Linked DNA regions of Homo sapiens: regions 2, 3 and 4 are each linked to region 1. Evidence: promoter capture Hi-C in 16 types of primary human blood cells and fetal thymus (Javierre and others, 2016). All regions are on one chromosome and are shown on one strand. The core of a region is centred on a gene start or on the middle of the fragment in contact, and the rest is flanking DNA. Distances in the headings are between cores, read along the strand shown.

Region 1 (2,632 bases), core at 96-2,595:
CCTCACTGAATAAGTGACATTTGGACAATGACCATGGGGAGATTAGGGAATGGGTTATTTGAATTTTCTGGGAAAATACTGTTCTAGGCAGAGGAAATAGCAAGTGCACGATCTTTAAGGCCAGAGTGTGCTAAGCACGTTGGAGAGGCCGAGTCCATTGTAGCTGAGTTACAGAAGTGAGTGGAAGAGAAGAAGGTGATGAGTTTAGAGAGGGAAGGGCAGGGCAAGAGACGGGCTGTATGGGGCTTTGCAGGTTACTGCAAGAATTTTGCAGGAGGGACAGAGACTGACTTGGTTCTTACCAGGATTCCTCTGGCTGCTGTGTTGAGTATAGACTCTAAGAGGAAAGAGTGGAAGCAGGCAGAACACTGAGGAGGCTGTTGCAGTGGTCCAGGTGGGAAATGATGGTGCTGACCGTGGAGGTGGTAAGTGGTCAGATTATTCTATTTTATTTACACTCAACACATCTAATACTGACTCAATATTATCTAACATACAGTCCACATTGAAATTGCCCCCCAAATTCTTTTTACATAAAAAAATCATCCTGAATCCAATCAAGTCTCACCTATTGCTTTTGGTTTTCACCTCTTTCATGCTGTCATATTTTAAAAGACTCCAGGCTAGATGTTGTGTAGAATGTCCCACATTCTGAATTCGTTTATTTTTTCAAGTAAGCTTTTTGTGTGTATGTGGCAAGAATACGACAGAGGTAGCAATATGCTTTCCCCACTGCATCATATTAGGAGACACATAACAACAGTCCTGACCCATTATTGGTGGTGCTAAGTTCGATCACTTGGTAAGGGGGTGCCTGCCAGATCTTTCCATTGTAAAGCAAGCTGTTCTTTATTGTAAGTCATAAATACGCTGTGGGATGATACTTCGGGACTAAATATACCCTGAATATACTGCTGCCCAACAACATTTCACCCAGTGACTTTAGCAGCTAAGGAACAGCCTCGTGGCTTCCGACCTTGTGCCTCAGTTCGCTCATCTGAAAAATGAGGATGATCATGGTCCCTACCGGATGCTTGTTTTGAGGATCCGTGCTTGGCATACCAGAAACGCTCCACAAATGTTAGGTATTACTGGACGAAGGCAAATATGAAAAAAATTAAGGGCAGGGCTAGGACTGCATTCCGGTTCTCCGGATCCCGAGGGAGCTCCCAGTCGATGCTGGGCGAAAGCGGCCGCACGAGCCCACGTCGCCACGCCCTCCGCCGCGGAAGCCAGGGTGGGGGTCGCTGGAACCCTAGGCCGGCCGCGCAAGGCCCCCTGGGACCGGTAGTGCTGGGCGTGGCCTCGGGACTACATATCCCAGTGGCCCCCGTGCGGCGACTTTAGCTGCTGCTGTCTCAGCCGCTCCACAGCGACGGCAGCGGCTGCGGCTTAGTCGGTGGCGGCCGGCGGCGGCTGCGGGCTGAGCGGCGAGTTTCCGATTTAAAGCTGAGCTGCGAGGAAAATGGCGGCGGGAGGTGAGTGGAGATAAAGGAGGAGGCGGTGGCGGGCGAGGGGGTGGAGTGCGAGGCGGAGGGAAGAGGGGCGAGTTCCCCAGGCTGCGAGAGCCAGCGGCTTCAGATCTGCCAAGGCACTGAGGGGCGCGCCGGCCGGGGGACGCGCTGAGGTAGTTTCGGGGTGTCGGGGCCGCGCCGCTTCCCCTCAGCCCGGGGGGCGGCCCGCGGCGGTAGGAGCTGAGACGAAGCTGGGTGGCAGTCCGCTTGGGGATCCGAGGGGGTCCCCGCGCGGAGGGGTCACCCGAGGAGTTTGCGGGGGGACTGCAGGGGCCCACTTTCCCCTTCTGTCCCTAAAGTTTTTTCTTCCTCTTGCCTCCCCCAGCCCTTTTGAAAGCTCCCCGCGTCGTCCTCCTGCTGCCCCGGCTCCTTAGCAGCTTCTGGGACGCACGGGAGGGAAAAGCCGCGGGGACCCCCCCCACCCCAGCCTCCCAGCCGGGTGAGATTTGGTTGCTGTGTTTCCTCCTCACTTGGGCATTTAAAAAATATTTTAACACGAATTGTCCGCGGAATTTTCATGTTGGGCTCGGGTAGCTTCTTAGTTTTCTCGGTAAAAAGGCGTTTTACTACCTCTGGTGTGAAGGCTGGGAAATGGCAAGTGGGAAGTTGGTTGATAAAATTAGGAGTTTGGCTGTCTTTATTACTACTTTTTTTTTTTTTTTGCTCTCCCCATCTCTCATTTTATGAACATCGACCCAGTTCGTCATGGTTTAAATAAACTGCTTGTCTTGTACCTGCCTTAACAAAACTAGCCATGGGTCGTTGGGAGACTTAGTTGCTTCCTAGGCAGTTTGAGGGCATCTAGGGTGGAAAAGTTAACCGAGAGAGCGAGCATCTACCTCACTGGCAGGATCTGGGATTCCCAAATGGAATGACACGGAAGCTATGAGATTCTCTCGAAGTCGAAACTTTTTTCCCCCTCCCGAATGCGAAGACTTCCTTTTTGCAATATTTGAGCAGGGCTTCAAAACCAACCTGTTTTTGTTATTAAGCCTGTACGGTAAAGAAACAGGAAGGAGAGTACCAGCTGTCTTGCTGCAGTGGTTTTAAATGGAGTTGAATGAGATGCGTGAGAGTGGTAGTAGTATTGAGTAAGATTGCTGCATCTCTTTGATTTA
Region 2 (2,632 bases), core at 41-2,540, 210 kb before region 1:
ACTTTGCAACCAGTCAGAATTTTCAATCCCCCTCAACGTTTTACTATGTCATTGCCCAATTGATATGGTTTGGCTCTGTGTCCCCACCCAACCTCATCTCAAATTTTAATCCCTACATGTCAAGGGAGGAACCTGGTGGGAGGTGACTGGATTATGGGGGTGGTTTCCCCCATCCTGTTCTCGTGATAGTGAGTGAGTTCTCACAAGATCTTGTGGTTTAAAAGTGTTTGGCACTTCCCACCCCCCTTCTCCTGCTGCCATGTAAAACGTGCCTTGCTTCCCCTTCGCCTTCCACCATCATTTTAAGTTTCCTGAGGGCTCCCTAGCCATGCAGAACTGTGAGTCAATTAAACCTCTTTTCTGGCGAGCCACAGTGGCTCATGCCTGTAATCCCACCATATTGGGAGGCCGAGGCTGGAGGATCACTTGAGGTCAGGAGTTTGAGACCAGCCTGGCCAACATGGTGAAACCCCATCTCTACTAAAAATACAAAAAAAAAAATAGCCAGTGCGGTGGCGGGAGCCTGTAATCCCAGCTACTGGGGAGGCAGAGGCACGAGAATCACTTGAACCTGGGAGGCAGAGGTTGCAGTGAGCCAACATCACACCACTGCACTCCAGCCTGGGTGACAGAGCAAGTCTCCATCTCAGAAAAACAAACAAACAAACAAAAAAAAAAACCTCTTTTCTTCATAAATTACTCAGTCTCAGGTAATATCTTTACAATAGTGTGAAAACAGACTAATGTACCAATTAAACTCCTCTGGGACATACAGTGCTTACTACGACAGAGAATTAACTGAATGGCATCATACCTCATGTGTGATTTACACATACTTGAATTTGGGGATGCAAGGAGGCCCAAAGAATACATCAGGTACCTAAAAAGCTAAGCTATTAACAGAACAAAACATATGTCATTACGTTCATTTACGCGTATACCAAGAGGAACTTTCTTCTTACCCCTGGCTGTTTCATTTTCTGAATGGCAAACTTGAGCAGGTAGGATAACTGTTCAATGGTGAGCATTGTCATGGCTTTACTCTGGGTCTCGATGCATTCTGCTACTGTAATTTTCTACAAAGTCAAAGTCATACATAAACGTCCGGTTAGAAAAAAGAAATTACCATCCATGTACTGATTTCTATTTTTTCAGTCAACTGACAGACAAAAAGCAATTCTCATCCCAATGAGACTTGTTGTTTCACTTAGCAAAGACTCCTGGAACAAAATGTACCAGATCAGTGGGTAACTATTAAAAAGCGTATCAATCTATTTCCTTATCAGGAAGCATTTTTAGCTCAGGAAGACGACATGATCTGAGAAAAGATGTGGCTAAACAGGGGCCTGAAAAATCATCATTATTATAACCTTTAGGTTTCAAGAATGGGATATGAAAGCAAAGGCCAGGTGGGCGTGGTGGCTCACGCCTGTAATCCCAGCACTTGGGGAGGCTGAGGTGGGTAGATTGCTTGAGCCCCAGTGTTGGAGACCAGCCTGGCAACATGATGAAACTCCATCTCTACAAAAAAATACAAAAACTAGCCAGGCATGGTGGCACGCATCCGTAGTCCCAGCTACTTGGTAGGCTGAGGTGGGAGGATGGGTTGAGCCTGGGAGGCGGAGGCTGCAGTGAACCATGATTGTGCCACTGCACTCTAGCCTGGGTGACAGAGCGAGACCCTGTCTCAAAAATATGTATGTATAAAAAAAGAAAGTAAAGGCCACGGATGATTTCAGGGTGATTACTTCACAGGATGGGTACTTATCAACCATTTATCCTGATCCTCTTAAGGTTCTGGGCTGTCATTCAGGAAACTGACAAGGCATTAATTCAATGACATCACTGATGGAAAGGGACAGACTTCCCTGCAGAAAGATTACAAGGGAAAGCAGTGGACTAATAATACGTATGACTTCATTGTCCATCTCCCTTACTTTGAACCCACCTAAGGCACTGTGTCAAAGTACACAAGGAGCACAACCTAACCTAACTGTCTATCTCCATGGGTAATAGATATCAGCTCCTAAGGGAAATTCCCATCAAAGAAGAGACCCAAAGGAACGTCTGAAACCAGATTCTGCTATGTAAATCTGGTACTACATCTTAAGGCTTCAGAATCCTTATGTAGCAGCAACAACAAAAATAGCAAATTCTGATCATGTCAGGAAACACTCTTTAACCATCTGTGTAGGGAGAGCTGAGAAAAGTTTTCTCCAATTAATTTGGATTCTGTTTCCATTTTTCACATCTCTGGGGCCTCCAAAAGGAACTCTCAGATGTGTCTCGTTGGTTGTCGAGGAAAAGGCCAACACAAGAGTCACTCAGAAGCTGAAAACAGTGCATGACGCATGCATCTATTTGCTTAGCTACCACAGCCTTGCAACGTTCAGTCTTCCCAGTTGACTGCCGTAACAACTCATCCCTGGAAGAAATTCAGAGCCCCGAATCTTAGACACAGAGCACCTGTTTGTTTGATTCTGGTTTGTTTCCAGGTAACTTATCCATGGCAAACACTTGGGCTGCCTGCCCAACTATCATTCATTCCCTCTCACCCCCCACTCCTTCTTCCTGGCTGGCAGTGCCTGGTTCCCACAACACAAAAAGCACCACATATGCAATTTTCAAGGCT
Region 3 (2,632 bases), core at 73-2,572, 190 kb before region 1:
CACACCTGTAATCTCAGCACTTTGGGAGGCCGAGGCAAGCGAATCATCTGAGGTCAGGAGTTCGAGACCAGACTGGCCAACATGGTGAAACCTCATCTCTACTAAAAATACAAAAAACTAGCTGGGTGTGGTGGCACGTGCCTATAGTCCCAGCTACTTGGGAGGCTGAGGCAGGAGAATCGATTGAGCCCAGGAGGCAGGGGTTGCAGTGAGCTGAGATCGCACGACTGCACTCCAGCCTGGGCAACAGAGCAAGACTCCGTCTCAAAAAAATTAATAATAAATAAAGTGTATCTAGCACCATTAATGGACCAATATTCCTCCCAAAAAAAGATTTAATATACACATCAATGTTTGCATAAACCTAGAATATTCCTGGATGAACACAAAAGTACAACAAAGCTCGACTTGGGGACTACTGGTTGCCTTGGGAGGGGTGCCTGCAGGGAGTCCAGGGAAGGGGAGTCCAGGGAAGGATTATTTTCCACTCTATACCCTTGTGTACTTATTTATCATGTGACTGGATGACGTTACGAAAATAAAGAAAATTGGCCAGGTGCGGTGGCTCACGCCTGTAATCCCAGCACCTTGGGAGGCTGAGGTTAGCAGATCGCTTGAGGTCAGGAGTTCGAGACCAGACTGGCCAAGATGGTAAAATCCTGTCTCTACTAAAAATACAAAAATCAGCCAGGTGTGGTGGTACGCTCCAGTAGTCCCAACTACTAGGGAGGCTGAAGCGGGAGAATCACTTGGCGCCAGGAGGCAGAGGTTGCAGTGAGCCAAGATTGCACCACTGCACTCCAGCCTGGGCGAAAGAGAGAGACTCCATCTTTAAAAACAAAACAAAACAAAAAGAATGCAAATTATCAGGCCCCACCCCAGATCTACAGAATCAGAAACTCTGGGGTAGGGCCCAGCAATCTGTTTTAATAAGTCCTCCCGAAGACTGGGAGGTACACTAGTTTGAGGAACGCTAGGGTATGTGTATGTGTTTAGGAGATGGGGTCTGAGTTCTCAACTCTACACAATCCTGTTCCACACTGGCGAGCCAGAGCCAATGGCCTCTACTTCCAGACATTATTTGAGGGGTTGGTTCAGGACTCAGGATAGAAGCTAAGCAAGGGAGTCAGGCTGGAGAATGAGGCTAAACAGGAAACAACCCCAGGCAAGTCTCCACCTCTCAGGGCCTCAGGGCCTCACCTGCAAAATGGGAAGAGCCGGGAGAAAGGGACTAGACTAGAAGTTCTTGTTTAAAGACCAGACAGTGCTCCAGGGACCCTTGAACAGGCCATCACTGTATACAGGAGTGCAATTTCTAGGGACATGGAGTCATAGCTTCCTTCACCTTTGCAAAGGTGTCCTCAGCTCCAATGATTAAAAACTTCAGGGCCCCCAGAGGATGTTAAAAGTCCCTCTTCAACATTACTTAATTTAATGAGAAAGTGGGAAAAAAAATCACTAGACAGTAATATACTTGTAAGCGATTTAGAGTTGGCAAGGGACTATCACCCAAGCCCACCAGGAAACAAAGGGGGAAACTGAGGTTCTGCTCAGCAAGAGGTAGGGGGAGGTGGGTCCTAGCCCAAGCATGCCCACACCTGAGAGTATTCCAAACCTTCTAGTTTCAGCAAAACATAAAAACCCCAATTCTGTTTGCTGTTACAAACACCAATTCCCCCTGGAGTTGATGAGAGTTCAGTGACTGTATCCAAGGGGTCGAAATTTGATAGGTTCCAAACAACAGACACATCAGTCAACAGCAGGAGATTTCAATGAAGGGTTGTAGGGAGAAGAATTAGGAAATGCCTGCTGGATTCGGTATCCTTCGGAGGGATGAGACAGCAGGGGGGCATTATTACTTAAATGCCCCCCACTCCAGTGGGGGCTGGGCCTCTGGTGATGATGGACTGGTGGGTGTACACCTGACTGTAGCCGTGGTACCCAGGCTCCATAAGGACCCTTTCCAGAAAGCTGAGTCAATTTTTTCTTCTTTAATGATTTAATTCTGACAAGGATGTATTGCCCAGTGCATTTCATCTATAAACTTTGAACAATGACAAACAGCCACTGTCGACTGAACCACTGGTTCACCCTGGATCTGAAAGACTTTTCTGCTGCCTTTTCTGAGGGAGTAGGACCTGTGACCCCGCCCGGCTGGCTCACTCACAACCCTCTGCCTCTCACCCATCCCCCAAAAATGAGTGGTTCTGAATGAGTTAACGTGGGTGAGGGAGGAATGCAGCCTTATGGAGAGGACAGAGCAGTGACTCAGGAAAACAGCTTGGCATGGAGCGGAAAGCAGCAGAATTTTCCTCTCCTTGTGACATTTTGCTGAAATTGTAACAATATGGGAAGGTCTACTGGGTATTAAGAACCAGGCATGAGGCCGGGCACGGTGGCTCACGCCTGTAATCCCAGCACTTTGGGAGGCCAAGGTGGGCAGATCACAAGGTCAGGAGTTCGAGACCAGCCTGACCAACATGGTGAAACCCCGTCTCTACTAAAAATACAAAAATTAGCTGAATGTGATGGTGAGCACCTATAATCCCAGCTACTCAGGAGGCTGAGGCAGGAAAATTGCTTGAACCCAGGAGGCGGAGGTTGCAGTAAGCCGAGATCATGCCATTGTACT
Region 4 (2,632 bases), core at 54-2,553, 160 kb before region 1:
CAAAAAAAAAAAAAAAGGTTTAAAAATCAAAGGGCCAGCCAGGCACGGTGGCTCACGCCTGTAATCCCAGCACTTTGGGAGGCCAAGGCGGGTGGATCACCTGAGGTCAGGAATTCGAGACCAGCCTGGCCAACACAGTGAAACCCTGTCTCTACTAAAAATACAAAAATTAGCCGGGCGTGGTGGCAGGCGCCTGTAACCCCAGCTACACCGGAGGCTGAGACACGAGAATCAATTGAATCCAGGAGGCGGAGGCTGCAGTAAGCCGAGATAGGCACTCCAGCCTGGGTGATGGAGGGAGACTCTGTCTCAAAAAAATAAATAAATAAAATAAAATAAAATAAATCAAAGGGCCGGGAGTGGTGGCTCACGCCTGTAAACCTAGCACTTTGGAAAGCCGAGGTAGGTGGATCCCTTGAGCCCACGAGTTCAAGAGCAGCCTGGGCAACACGGCAATAACCCTCTATATAATTAATAAATAAATAAAGATAAAACCTGACCCTAGTTCCATCCCTACTTTGACACTTCCTTAATTCATCTGAGCCTCAGTTTCCTTAACTGTAAAATGGGAATGACACACCCACATCATGGAATTAGTATGAAAATTAAATGAAGTAATTTGCATATCATGCCATGAAGTACTCAGAAAATATTAGCCACGCAAACACACCTGGCATCGAGATGGCACTTCCCATTGATGTAGGAGCATCTTTCAGCAGGATCATTACCCTCGGACACAAATGTCAACCTGACATCTTGAAAGCTCGAAAGCTTTGTCTCCTGAGAGCTAAAACGCTCTACTAAATGCCAAGGCTGGCATAATGGCAATGACTGGCTTGGGAATTACTCAGTTAATAAGTGAGTATGTGTCAAGGGGAGAGGGGCGTAAAAATTGAAATTCAGTTAGAGAAACTGAAAGGTCACATGGACTAGATGTAGGAATAGGACTGAGGAATTCTGCACCAATTATTGTCAGAGTTTCTAAGTTTCCCAAGAAGAGGACGGCTCAGCACCTGTTTTCTAAGTGCAAGTAGAGAAAAACACGTTGCCAGGTTCATAAGATGGTAGAGTGGTCACCTTATCTCCTTTTGAGGACCCATCTCTTTCCCAGTGGGGACAGCGTTGGTGGGTCCAGGTGTCCAGGATATTAGCCCTTCCCTGGCCAGAGACGTGCACATGGACTTTGCGCTATTGTCCCTGAGGAGGCTCCGGGCTGGCTCTACTCCCGAGAGTGGCCTGGACCTCCAGCCTTCCCACCAATGCAGTGGGAGCAGCTTCACACCAACAGACCACCTGCAGTCCATCCCTTTCCTGCTCAGAACCGAAGGACCCTGACCCGGGTCATGTCACAGGGGAACAGAGTCCCTAAACTTCCCAAGAAAAGCAGGCTGGAGGAAAAAAAAAAACATGTTCACTGAGCCTGGAGATCATCCCACTGCGGACGCTGAGATCACTGGGACTGAACAAGAGATAAGGCTTCATCCCGGTCAGCTTCACAGACATCATATTTTCACCATGCAGACTTCAGCTCTGGGAACCTCAGCAACCCCAATCTTAACCCCAGGACTTTGAATATTAAGCCAAGTGGCTCCGGCAGAAAGGTGCTCTGGAAACAGAAGCTACCACCACCGCCACTCACTATGGGGCACGAGAGCTCAGTTTCACATAACGACAACCACCCCAGAGAATCCTTGGGGAAAGTTCTCCCTCAAAACAAGGTGATCCCTTCCCCTCAATGATTCCCTACCAAAGCAAGAATTCCCAAGCACCCGAGAAAATCCTTCCAAACACCTGCAGAATGGCTTCTTCAAATGTCACAGAGGCCAACAGGACAGGAAGCTTGCAGGGCAGTGCAAAGCACTGGACTCCTAGATGGAGAGAAGCAAATTCCTATCTGGTCCCGAGCCTGCCTGCTGGGCAACCCTACACAATTATTTCTTTTTTTTTTTTTTTTTGTGAGACAGAGTCTCGCTCTGTCACCCAGGCTGGAGTGCAGTGGCGTGATCTTGGCTCACTGCAAGCTCTGCCTCCCAGGTTCATGCCATTTTCCTGCCTCAACCTCCCAAGTAGCTAGGACTACAGGCGCCCACCTCCACGCCCGGCTAATTTTTTGTATTTTTAGTAGAGACGGGGTTTCACTGTGTTGGCCAAAATGGTCTCGATCTCCTGACCTTGTGATCCGCCCGCCTCGGCCTCCCAAAGTGCTGGGATTACAGGCATGAGCCACAGTGCCCGGCCCACAATTCTTCACTGTGCCCCCTCTAAGCAGGGGGTCTTCCGGGCATGGTTTCCTCATCTGCCTCCAGACCTTCTTCCTAGAGGCTGCAAGTGGGGGAAATGGCAGAACAGTCATTCTCACCACCTGACAGACCTAGCAATAAAAATTCACTGTCTCTAAGTTGATGCAAATCATAGCTAACATTTTTGAGCAGCCACCCTGTCCCAAGAACCATTCTTTTTTGAGACGGAGTCTCACTCTGTCGCCCAGGCTGGAGTGCAGTGGCGCAATCTCTGCTCACTGCAAGCTCCGCCTCCCGGGTTCACGCCATTCTCCTGCCTCAGCCTCCTGAGTAGCTGGGACTACAGGCACCCGCGACCACGCCTGGCTAATTTTTTGTATTTTTAGTAGAGA

What was found. The method cuts DNA at HindIII sites, captures the fragments that hold promoters and counts their contacts. A CHiCAGO score of 5 or more calls a contact.
Region 2: a fragment that was not itself captured here is called in contact with the fragment with the promoter of NCOA3 in region 1 in 4 of 17 cell types (activated CD4 T cells, naive B cells, total B cells and 1 more); the score reaches 10.7 in activated CD4 T cells.
Region 3: a fragment that was not itself captured here is called in contact with the fragment with the promoter of NCOA3 in region 1 in 3 of 17 cell types (activated CD4 T cells, total B cells and naive B cells); the score reaches 10.5 in activated CD4 T cells.
Region 4: a fragment that was not itself captured here is called in contact with the fragment with the promoter of NCOA3 in region 1 in 1 of 17 cell types (total B cells); the score reaches 5.4 in total B cells.

What each region holds. Positions count from the first base shown.
Region 1 is chr20:47,500,542-47,503,173 of GRCh38, forward strand. NCOA3 (nuclear receptor coactivator 3) reads left to right here and starts at 1,346. Exons shown (of 23, transcript NM_181659.3): 1 at 1,346-1,478. RefSeq lists a cis regulatory region at 262-334 and a silencer at 1,586-1,705. The HindIII fragment of the contact is 2,001 bases long and covers 677-2,632 here.
Region 2 is chr20:47,293,704-47,296,335 of GRCh38, forward strand. It overlaps ZMYND8 (zinc finger MYND-type containing 8), which reads right to left. Exons shown (of 23, transcript NM_001281775.3): 5 at 963-1,076. Among named protein-coding and RNA genes, the nearest start is that of ZMYND8, 62 kb to the right of the region's middle. The HindIII fragment of the contact is 4,787 bases long and covers 1-2,632 here.
Region 3 is chr20:47,313,667-47,316,298 of GRCh38, forward strand. The region is part of intron 2 of ZMYND8 (zinc finger MYND-type containing 8); the gene reads right to left. Among named protein-coding and RNA genes, the nearest start is that of ZMYND8, 42 kb to the right of the region's middle. The HindIII fragment of the contact is 5,242 bases long and covers 1-2,632 here.
Region 4 is chr20:47,337,034-47,339,665 of GRCh38, forward strand. All of the region lies in intron 2 of ZMYND8 (zinc finger MYND-type containing 8), which reads right to left. Among named protein-coding and RNA genes, the nearest start is that of ZMYND8, 18 kb to the right of the region's middle. RefSeq lists enhancers at 1-347, 2,352-2,632. The HindIII fragment of the contact is 1,068 bases long and covers 770-1,837 here.